Linked DNA regions of Homo sapiens: regions 2 and 3 are each linked to region 1. The links are contacts of gene promoters, found by promoter capture Hi-C in human tissues and cell types (Jung and others, 2019). All regions are on one chromosome and are shown on one strand. The core of a region is centred on a gene start or on the middle of the fragment in contact, and the rest is flanking DNA. Distances in the headings are between cores, read along the strand shown.

The links. The method cuts DNA at HindIII sites, captures the fragments that hold promoters and counts their contacts. A contact is called where the count stands out against the background at its distance.
Region 2: a contact is called between a fragment that was not itself captured here and the fragment with the promoter of PIGU in region 1, in 1 of the 25 tissues and cell types used here (dorsolateral prefrontal cortex).
Region 3: a fragment that was not itself captured here is called in contact with the fragment with the promoter of PIGU in region 1 in 1 of the 25 tissues and cell types used here (dorsolateral prefrontal cortex).

The regions. Positions count from the first base shown.
Region 1 is chr20:34,675,299-34,678,772 of GRCh38, reverse strand. It overlaps PIGU (phosphatidylinositol glycan anchor biosynthesis class U), which reads left to right and starts at 1,681. Exons shown (of 12, transcript NM_080476.5): 1 at 1,681-1,817. The coding sequence starts at 1,688. RefSeq lists enhancers at 441-1,326, 1,327-2,213 and silencers at 1,612-1,721, 1,962-2,061. The HindIII fragment of the contact is 20,123 bases long and covers 1-3,474 here.
Region 2 is chr20:35,447,725-35,451,198 of GRCh38, reverse strand. It overlaps a transcript of GDF5 not described here. Among named protein-coding and RNA genes, the nearest start is that of MIR1289-1, 4.6 kb to the left of the region's middle. The HindIII fragment of the contact is 8,774 bases long and covers 1-3,474 here.
Region 3 is chr20:35,266,054-35,269,527 of GRCh38, reverse strand. The region is part of intron 2 of MMP24-AS1-EDEM2 (MMP24-AS1-EDEM2 readthrough); the gene reads left to right. It overlaps MMP24 (matrix metallopeptidase 24), which reads right to left. Exons shown (of 9, transcript NM_006690.4): 6 at 2,109-2,323. Among named protein-coding and RNA genes, the nearest start is that of MMP24-AS1-EDEM2, 10 kb to the left of the region's middle. The HindIII fragment of the contact is 9,806 bases long and covers 1-3,474 here.

The sequences.
Region 1 (3,474 bases), core at 432-2,931:
TAAACACTCGCATTGGGAGGGATTTTCAATCTATCAACCTGAGGAAACTGAACACCACCATTTGGGAAGAGAAAGAGATAGTATTTGCTGTACTGATACAGCGGTGGTAAATAATCTCAAAAGCACATATAAAAAAAAGTGTAGTAAAATAATTAGAAAGTGACGTGTTGAATATGTATTCCGTTGTTTTCAATATAAGTTATTTAACTGTAGGTTTATATGTCTTAATTTTCAAAAATGCCTGTGTTTAAAAGCGACTGGCAAAATTTCTAAGCCTTCCGGCCAGGCACGATGACACAAGCCTGTAATCCCAGCACTTTGGGAGGCCGAGGCAGGCAGGTGGATCGCCTGAAGTCTGGAGTTCGAGACCAGCCTGACCAACATAGAGAAACCCTGTCTCTACTAAAATTACAAAAAATTAGCCGGGCGTGATGGCGCATGCATGTAATCCCAGCTACTCGGGAGGCTGAGGCAGGAGAATCGCTTGAACCTGGGAGTCGGAGGTTGCAGTGAGCTGAGATCGCGCCATTGCACTCCAACCCGGGCAATAAGAGCGAAACTCCGTTTCCAAAACAAAAAAAAAATTTCTAAGCCTTCCTCAACTGTCCCTAGTTAGCCTATAATCAGCACATTTTTCAGCACACAAGGGTTAAGCGACTTGTTGAACTAGCTAATAAATCAGTCTACTACTCCAAAACGCATCTGTAGAACCTAACATAGTGCCTGGAAAATAGTTGGCGTTTAACAAACAACTGCCAGAATAAATTTTTTAAAAAATACACATTTAACACTCTTTAAAAACATAAAAGGTACCAGCCTGGGCAACATGGCGAAACCCCGTCTCTACTAAAAGTACAAAAACTTAGCCGGGTGTGGTGGCGCGCACCTGTGGTCCCAGCTACTCTGGAGCCCGGGAGGTCCAGGCTGCAGTGAGCTGAGATTGCGCCACTGCACTCCAGCCTGGGCGACGGCACTGAGACCCTGTCTCAAAAACAAAAAACATAAACATTTTGGGCAGGGTGCGGTGGCTCACGCCTGTAATCCCAGCATTTTGGGAAGCCGAGGCGGGCGGATCACCTGAGGTCAGGAGTTCGAGACCAACCTGGCCAACATGGTGAAACCCCATCTCTACTAAAAATACAAAAAAAAAAAAAAAAAAAAAATAGCCGCGCGTGGTGGTGGGCGCCTGTCATCCCAGCTACCCAGGAGGCGGAAGTTGCAGTGAGCCAAGATCGCGCCACTGCACTCCAGCCGGACGACAGAGCGAGACTCCGTCTCAAAAAAAATAAAAATAAAAATAAAAATAAACATTTTGGCATTGAAAACATACACGCAAGAGTGAATTTAACATCTGTTTAAAAGTCTCTCACAATCCCAGGAAGGCGACTACTTCCGCTTCTACTTTCAGCAGCGTTTCAGCCCCGCTATAGCGGCGCGGCTTCACAAAACACCTGCGATCGTAGAAGGTTTCGCCCCACCTTCTGCATACGCAGCTTGAGGCGCCCGCTTTCCGTCGCTCCGGCCCGCCTCGCCGCAAGGCTTTCTGGGAGCCGTAGTCCCCACGTCTGGCCTCTCCGGCGCCAGCGGCAGCGCGCGCCCACCCGCGGAACTACAGAGCGTGGCGCACAGCGCGCGAGGCTCCTCCGCCTCGCCTTCCCTCCCCGCCCGCGCGCCCGCCCCAGTTATCATGGCGGCTCCCTTGGTCCTGGTGCTGGTGGTGGCTGTGACAGTGCGGGCGGCCTTGTTCCGCTCCAGTCTGGCCGAGTTCATTTCCGAGCGGGTGGAGGTGGTGTCCCCACTGAGCTCTTGGAAGAGAGGTGAGGCCACTGGCTCGAGCAGACTGTCAGGCCCCACCTGCCCTCCCGCGGCCTCTGTGAATGGGAGGCGGGGGCAGTGACCGCCAGCGCGCGGTTCCTAGAGAACTAACTGACTGTCTCGTGGGGTTCTTGGAGAGGGCGGGGCCTGAGGGCGGGGCTGGTGAGGGGAGGGGGCGTGGGGACCGGGGCGTGGGGACAGTGTCGTGAGGTTTGGGCCCTGGGGGCCGGACCACCTAGTGGTGGGGATCTGAGGGGGCGTGTCCCATTCAGTGTCCTGAGCCGAGGAGTGTGGTCTGTGGGAAGGGTTGGAATAAGAGGAGGAGGTGCTTGTGGAGCGCGGCTTGCAGAGGAGTTTGGGATTTGGGGCGGGATCGCCAGGGGTGCTCCCTGGGATAAAAGGTTATGTGTGAGGGGGTCCGGGATGAGGGGACCAATTTTGCTTAAGCGAGGAGAGTGTGCGTGTGCTTTAGACGTCTCTTCTCAGTCTGGGACTTGCAGGGCAATTTTTGTTACTGTTCCTTACTAAGTTCTTCACCGAACATTGTTTTATACTAACGCCTACAGCGAGAAAGCGAAGTTGGCCTGAAGTAGCTGCACAGGCTAGTGAGGGAGACAAATCGTTATAATAATTCATGAAAAGTATACTTTATGTGTCCACCCAGTTCCTTCCTTAGTATTCTGACCCTGAATAAACTATCCCCTACCTTTCCAGTTTTCCAGAATGTGGGATTTGAGCTGACTCTTGAAGGATGTAGGGTTTTGAAAGGGAGATTAGAGAAAAGGAGAGTTCCAGGTAGCAGAAAGTAAATAGGATGAAGAAACGTTCAAGGATGTGAAATGTCCAAAGCAGGGGAGTAATGGGGTGGAAGCTAGGTTTAGGCCAGAGTTTGATGATTAAAAAAAAACAAACAACTTTTTTTTTTTTTTTTTTACTGAAGTACAGTATACATACAATGCATATTAAGTAAGTGTAGAGTTCAATGAATTTTTAAAAACTGTATTCACTCATGTAGCCAGCACCTAGTTCAAGAAACAGTATCAGCACCCCAGAAGTCCCCTTTGTGTCCTTTAAATGCTAAAGTTTTTTTGTTTTTGTTTTTGTTTTTTGTTTAGAGACAGGGTCTTTCTATGTTGCCCAGGCTGGTCTGGAACTCCTGGACTCAAGCAGTCTCACTTGGCCTCCCAAAGTGCTGGGATTTCAGGCGTGAGCCATGGCACCTGGCCAAGGCTAACGTTTTGATGTTATCCCATAGAATGTTGGTATGGGGAACGGCATAATGAATGGGTGTTTTATGAATAGAGTTAAGGTTTCTAAAAATGGTAACATATACCTTTTCTCATTTAGTCCTCACATTTATTTCTATGTGATAGATGGTGTTATTTTCCCCCTTTTACAGATGAGGGAACTGAAATTTAGAGAAGTTAATTTGCCCAGGTTTCCTAGTTGGGGAATGGTAATAAAGATAGTAATAATTCATGTCTGAGATTGTAAGAGCTTGGATTTGTTACCTCTGCGTATTATTTTTCTGTTGAAATGAATCGAAGCCATTTGGTTCCTGTTTTCTTCTGGATAACTGAAAACCTGAGGCAGTATTAGGCCCTTCTTCCTCTACACCCTACTAAGAGCATTTCTTATCTCATAATTACCTGTTTATAT
Region 2 (3,474 bases), core at 558-3,057, 770 kb before region 1:
AGCCCATGCCAAGAGGCCGTCTGGACTAACTGAATTAAAAAATATATATATATATGTATGTGAAATTTCAAAATGAGGTGCTAAATCACTACATATATATTTGTGTATATATATATATATATATATATATATATTTTTTTTTTTTTTTTTTTTTTTCTGTTAGTCTAAAATCTGTTTGAAAGTTCCTAAATCCCTTATCCCAATATAAAGGGGTCTGCAGGTGGAGGATAGATAATTTGTGTGGAGATATTTCTGGCTATGAGTCCCCATTCCTCCTTGGGGAAGATTAAGAGGACATTACTTTTAACCGCTCAAACCAAGTGACTAGGAGAGGGGGCTTCCATGAGAATCTGAGATGCAGAATCCATACCATTGCACTTAGGGAGTATCGTGACCAGGATATGCTTCCTGCCTGTGAACTCTAGCAAGAAGAGACAAGCCTGCTGACTATTAGGTCCTGTTCAGTAGGGCTTCCTGGAGGTATAAAGGGACCCCAGGAACAAGAAGCTAGACAAATGGCCATTAATAGATGCCTTTGCTAAGGGAACTGCAGGAGAGGGGCCAGTAGGGAACCCCTGAAGAGTGTATAAAAGCACCCCATGATGCTTTGATGATGGATAGAGATGGCTATAAACATCTGCGAGGCCCAGAAAGCACTAAGCCAGCTATTACACTGGTTCAAAGAAGACTTTTCCCACCCCCATCTTCCTCTCCATGTTAACATGGAGACATGTTGAGTGACTAAAGTGAGCTGAGGATGACAGAGAGGGAAAAATAGAGGGAAAAAAAGTCAACCACTTTCCTCTTTCTTTCTCACTGCAAGGTAACAGTCTGGAGCACCAAAACGATAGTCTCTTGCTGCTGTTCCTCTGAGTCCATTCTTTTTTTTTTTTTTTACAGAGTCTCACTTTGTAGCCCAGGCTGGAGTGCAGTGGCACGATCTTGGCTCATTGCAACCTCCGCCTCCTGGGTTCAAGTGATCCTCGTGCCTCAGCCTCCTGAGAAGCTGGGATTACAGGCGCCCACCACCACCACACCCAGCTTTTTTTTTTTTTTTCAGTAGAGATGGGGTTTCACCATGTTAGCGAGGCTGGTCTTGAATTCCTGACCTCAAGTGATCCGCCCACCTCGGCTTCCCAAAGTGCTGGGATTACAGGCGTGAGCCGCGACGCCCGGCCCATTCTCTCTCTCTCTCTTTTTTTTTTTTTAAGAGACAGGGTTTTGCTCTTTCACTCAGGTTGGAGTGCAGTGATTTGATCATAGCTCACTGCAGCTTCAATCTCCTGGGCTCAAGCGATCCTCCTGGCTCAGCCTCCCGAGTAGCTAAGACTATAGGCCTGTGCCACCAGTCCTGGCTAATTTGTTTAAAAATTTTTTTGTAGAGATGGGGACTCACTGTGTTGTCCAGGTTGGTCTTGAATTCCTGGCATCAAGCAATGTTCCTACTTTAGCCTCCCAAAGTGCTGGGATTATAGGCTTGAGCTGCCGCGCTGAAGTTCCATTCATTCATTATTTTTAAAATATTGATTGAGCACCTACTGTGTGCCAAAAGTTGAGTTATGCACTGGGAGGGACCCAAAGAACAATAATAAATGAACTCTGTCCAGAGCCTCTGTTCACAAACTCACATGGCAGGCAAGCAAGTAAAGAAATAGTTCACACACACACAGTGTAGTAAATTCTATAAAGAGGGAGCAGCTGGCTACACAGCATCAGGCCACTATGACTTGTTTGTGAAGGATAAAAACGCTAAAATTAGCCAGGTGTGGTGGTGCACTACTGTAGTCCCAACTATTCTGGAGGCTGAGGTAGGAAGGATCGCTTGAGCCCAGGAGGTTGAGGCTGCAGTGAGCTGTGTTCAAGCCACTGCACTCCAACCTGGGCAACACAGCAAGACCCTGTCTCAAAAAAAAAAAATGCTAAGCAGACAAGCCAGGCATGGTGGCATGTGGCTGTAGTCCCACCCACTCAAGAGGCTGAGTCAGAAGAACCTCTTGAGCTTAGGAGTTTGAGACCAGCCTGGGCAGCATAGCAAGACCCCATCTCAAAAAAAAATGCTAAGCAAAGTGGCAGGGGTGGGGTGGTGGCGGGGATTCCAAGCAGCATGTGCAAAGGCACAGCAGCATGCTAGAGCATGGGATGTGTTAGGAATGCCGGACACTCCTCTTGCTGATGCCACCATCTGGTTGAATTGTGTCAATCTCCCTAGTTGGATTCCCTTTGTCAGCTGGATATTTTCTCCCTGGTCCTGACCCCGCCTCAGTAGGCAGTTCTTATTCCAGTCCTAGCCCCCTCTCACTCACTAAGTCAGGCTCGAAGTGACCAGCGTACCCAAGCTTGAGATTCTTGAAGTGGATGACATCTTTTCACTATCACTCAGGGCTTGGGCAATAAAGGATGTCCAGTCACAGTTCCCACAGGACCAGGTCCTCTCCTTCCTCAAAAATGGGCCCTTGGTCAGGCCTGATGGCTCATGCCTGTAATCCCAGCACTTTGGGAGGTGGAGGCAAGTGGATCGCTTGAAGCCAGAAGTTTGAGACCAGCCTGGCCAACATGGCGAAACCCTGTCTCTACTAAAAATACACAAATTAGCCGGGCCTGGTGTCGTGCACCTGTGATCCCAGCTGCTCGGAAGGCTGAGGCACAAGAATCGCTTGAACCTGTGAGGAGGAGGTTACAGTGAGCCAAGATTGCTCCACTGCACTCCAGCCTGGGTGACAGAGTGAGACAAAAAAAAAAAAAAAAAAAAAGTCGGGGGGGCCCTTAACTATATATATATATATATTTTTTTTTTTTTTTTTGAAAAAAACAAAAAGTCCCGTAGCCAGGACTACAGATGTGCACCACCGCGTCCAGCTTGCCTTATGTTCTTGAGCAACCCTCTTTCCCTTTCTGAGCCTCAAATTCCTCAGCTGCAATATGGGGATAACAGTACTTACCAGCTAGGGTTCTTATACACAAAGTGGGAATTAGAATTAGATGGAGGGAAGGAGGAGTGGAGGAGTCCAGCAAGGATCTGAGATTTCTGAGCTCAAGAATGACAACAAGGTTTCCAGTGATTAGAGAGGTTTCCTGTGATTAGAGAGATTGGGGTGTGAGGGGAGAGGGGAACTTTCTCTTTTAACTTTATAAACTTTGGTATTATTTGAATATTTTTACAATGAACATGATTTAATTTTATAATCAAATATATTTGGTATGAATATCATGCATCGATAAAAAGGTGTTTAAATTTTTTTTTTATTTTATAGAGACGGGCTTGTGCCATGTTGCTCAGACTGATCTCCAACTCCTGGGCTCAGGCAGTTTTCCCGCCTCAGCCTCCCAAAGTGCTGGGATTACAGGCATGAGCCACCGTGCCCTGCCTAATAAAGTTTTTAAAAAGCTGATGTTACTATATTGTGTGGAAAGTCATCTAGGAGACTGATCAGAGTTGTTGCTTCTGGGGAGGACTGAAAGACCCAGGGTCTGGGG
Region 3 (3,474 bases), core at 975-3,474, 590 kb before region 1:
GGCCTGGTGTGGAAAAGGAGGTGTGAGGGAGCCGGAAAGGATGATGTTGGGGCCTGGAGTGGCCACATGGGGGCAGTGGAGCGTCACTGACATCAGCCAGACTGGTCCTCGGGACAGTGGGAGGCTGGGGTGGTCACTGAGCCTGGGCCGAGCGCCCTCCATGAGGCTGGCTCCATCCAGCAGGGCCAGGATCATGGAAGCCAAGTCATGGGAATTCCCTCGAGACCTGGGCATGAATTCACATTCCTCCATTTATAGCTGCATGACCTAGGCCTCACCTGCAAGTGCAGGTAATAATGGAGAATCAGATGAGAGATTCTAGGCAAAATGCCCAGACCAGTACGGGGCACACAGTCCATGTTGAGTAAATGGCAGCTAAATAGTCCGAGTCCAGTAAAAACGCCTCTTGTAACTGGTGCCTCAGTCTTGGGCTGGTACACAAGCAGTCTAGGCAAGGCCTGTAGCCTCCAGGCCTCAGTTTTCTTTCTTTTTTTTTTTTTTTAGATGGAGTCTCGCTCTGTCACCCAGGCTGGAGTGCAGTGGCGCAATCTCGGCTCACTGCAAGCTCCGCCTCCCAGGTTCATGCTATTCTCCTGCCTCAGCCTCCTGAGTAGCTGGGACTACAGGCGCCCGCCACCACACCCGGCTAATTTTTTATATTTTTAGTAGAGATGGGGTTTCACCATGTTAGCCAGGATGGTCTTGATCTCCTGACCTTATGATCCGCCCTCCTTGGCCTCCCAAAGTGTTGGGATTGCAAGGCGTGAGCCACTGCGCCCAGCCTCCAGGCCTCAGTTTTCTTATGTGTAAATGGGGATGATAAAACCCGGACCTGCCTATGAACGGTTCAGTTGGATCAAAGTAGAATGAGTGCAGAAGAAGAAGCATGATTTGTAAAAGATGGTACAAAAGCTAGTATTTTAAAAGGTGTTTTACAAAGCACTTTCACATCCAGGTTTTTGACCTTATTTTGACTTTCATGTCTCTGTTAAGTTGATCTGAGATATACGGAGTCTTAAGAAAGGCCAGGTGACTTGCCTAGAGCCACTCAGTGAGAAGCCAGACTGGGGCTGACTCACGCTGCCCGATTCCTGCGCAGTGCTCAGTGCGTGCTGGGAGAACTCCACAAGGGGAGCGAGGCAGCCTCTTTCACCATCCTGTGTGATGGAGCCACCCTGCCCAGATCCCCTTCAGAGAAGGGCTTGTTGCCCCAGTGGCCAGCAGTGTGGCCAGCAGGCAGTTTTCAACTGTCAGCCCCTTTGGGGATGTTCCCTGCTTCAGAGAGCTCTCCTCAGTCACTGGATGCCCTTCCTCATCCAGTGATTGAATGAGGTAGGGGTTATAATGTTCCAGATATTTTGGACCCAACGTAGGCTGAGTGACAGGCCACCGTAGCCCCAGAGCTCCCTGCGGGGGTGGCTGAGGCTGCCATGGGCCTCTGTTGCCACTTAACCTCTCCCTCTTCCCTGTCCTGCTTCCTTCTCCCCCTCACAAATGTTGATTCTGAAAGTACTCTCTAATCGAAATCCTGCATTCCAGACCCCACCTCAGAGTTCACTCCCCGAGAGCCCAACCTGCAACACGTCAAGCAGACTGCCACCCTGTCAGTCCATGGCTGATGGAGGACAGATGACAAGATATACCCTGGGCTGCTGCCAGTAGCAGCCCCTCAAGCCTTGGTAGGGTCTGGAGTCAGACTCAGCCACCACTGACCTAGCCCCTACTCCAAGTTGACCATCTTCAGAGCCGGGTACTCACTGGATCTTCACACACTCTTTGTTAGAGGAATGACTCCCCCAGGTTTCGGATGGAGAAACTGAGGTCCCAAGAAGGGTGGTCACAGACCAGAAGCCAGCTTCCAGCACTTTCTCCCAGCATTAACCCCAGGGGAGGTGAGGGATCACCCATCTTTCCCCCTCCCTCTTGGGAACAGTTGATTCACCCAGCAGCACTAGGAAGAGACCCCATGCCCTGGCCACTGGGCTAGCTCCTGTCCAGGCCCCATTGTAATCGAATCCCAAATCAGGAGCCTTCCCCAGCTCCATGATGTCGGGGAGGAGGAGGAAAGGTCAGGGGCCAGCTGGGTGGTGCCAATCCATTGGCCCTACCTTAAAGACAAACATCTCGCCCCGGAAGAGGGCCACTGTGTTGAAGTTGCCGTCACAGATGTTGGGTTTGGTGCCTGGTGTGGATGGCCGGTCCCCGAGGGGCGGCCGAGGGGGCCTGGGCTGGCGCTCGTGTTTCCTCTCCGATGGTGAGTGGATCCTGCGGACGGGGAGTGTAGGGAGTGGCCTTGTGGGCTCCAGAGGCTCGGCTGGGGGTCCTGGAGAGAGGAGCTGCATCTTAGAGAGGGGGCAGCCGTTTCCCGCCTCCCATTGCCAGTCTCAGCATCACCCAGGCAGCTCTGAGACAAGTCTGTCCCAGTTCAGCCTCCTGTTCCCTCTCCCCAGTTTAACTCCCCCAGTCTTTGAGAAAATGGATGAAAATAGCCATTAGAATGGGACTCTCATCTTTCCATCCCCGAATCTGGTATCTTCTCTTTTCTCTCTCCTGTTACAGAGCAATCATGTCCTTCCTTAGGGTCAGCGCTCTTCCTTAGGCCATACCCTCTTTGCCCCCTTCACACGCACTGGCCCCACTTCCTCACCCCCTTCATTTATTCTCTTTCCCACCCCAGTGCAGCTTCTACCCGTCACCCACTCCAACTGCTCTGCCAAGATCATCCAATGGTTACTTGACTCAGACTTTAATAAGCACATGCATCATCTGGGGATGTTGCTAAAATGCAGATGAGGGCTCAGAGGGCCTGGGGTGGGGCCTGAGAGTTTGCATTCCTTCACACTCTCAGGTGATGCTGATGCTGCTGGTCTGAAGACTACATTTTGAGCAGCAAGATTCATAGAAACACTTTCCTGGAAACACTCTCTTGGTTGTCCTCCTGCCTCATGGGCTGTTCTTTCTCAGTCTCCTTTGCTGGCTGCGTGTCCTCATCTGCCCTACTCTAGAGGCTGGCGTGCCCTTGGGTCCTCTTCTCTTCCGTCTCTACATTTTCATCCTTAGGTCAGTGCTTCTTCACTTGGGCTGCATATTAGGATCACCTTTGGGAGCTTTTCAAACTGGATGTTCAGGAAGCACCAGGCCAGCTCTCCAACTTTTTTTTTTTTTTTTTTTTTTTTGAGAAGGAGTCTCGCTCCGTCCCCCATGCTGGAGTGCAGTGGCGTGATCTAAGCTCACTGCAACCTCTGCCTCCCAGGTTCAAGTGATTCTCCTGCCTCATCCTCCCAAGTAGCTGGGACTACAGGCACGTACCACCACACCCAGGTGATTTTTTTTTTTTTTTTTTTTTTTTTTTAGCAGAGATGGGGTTTCACCATGTTGACCAGGCTGGTCTTGAACTCCTGACCTCAAGTGATCCACCCACCTTGGCCTCCCAAAGTGCTGGGATTACAGGCGTGAGCCACCACGCCCAATACC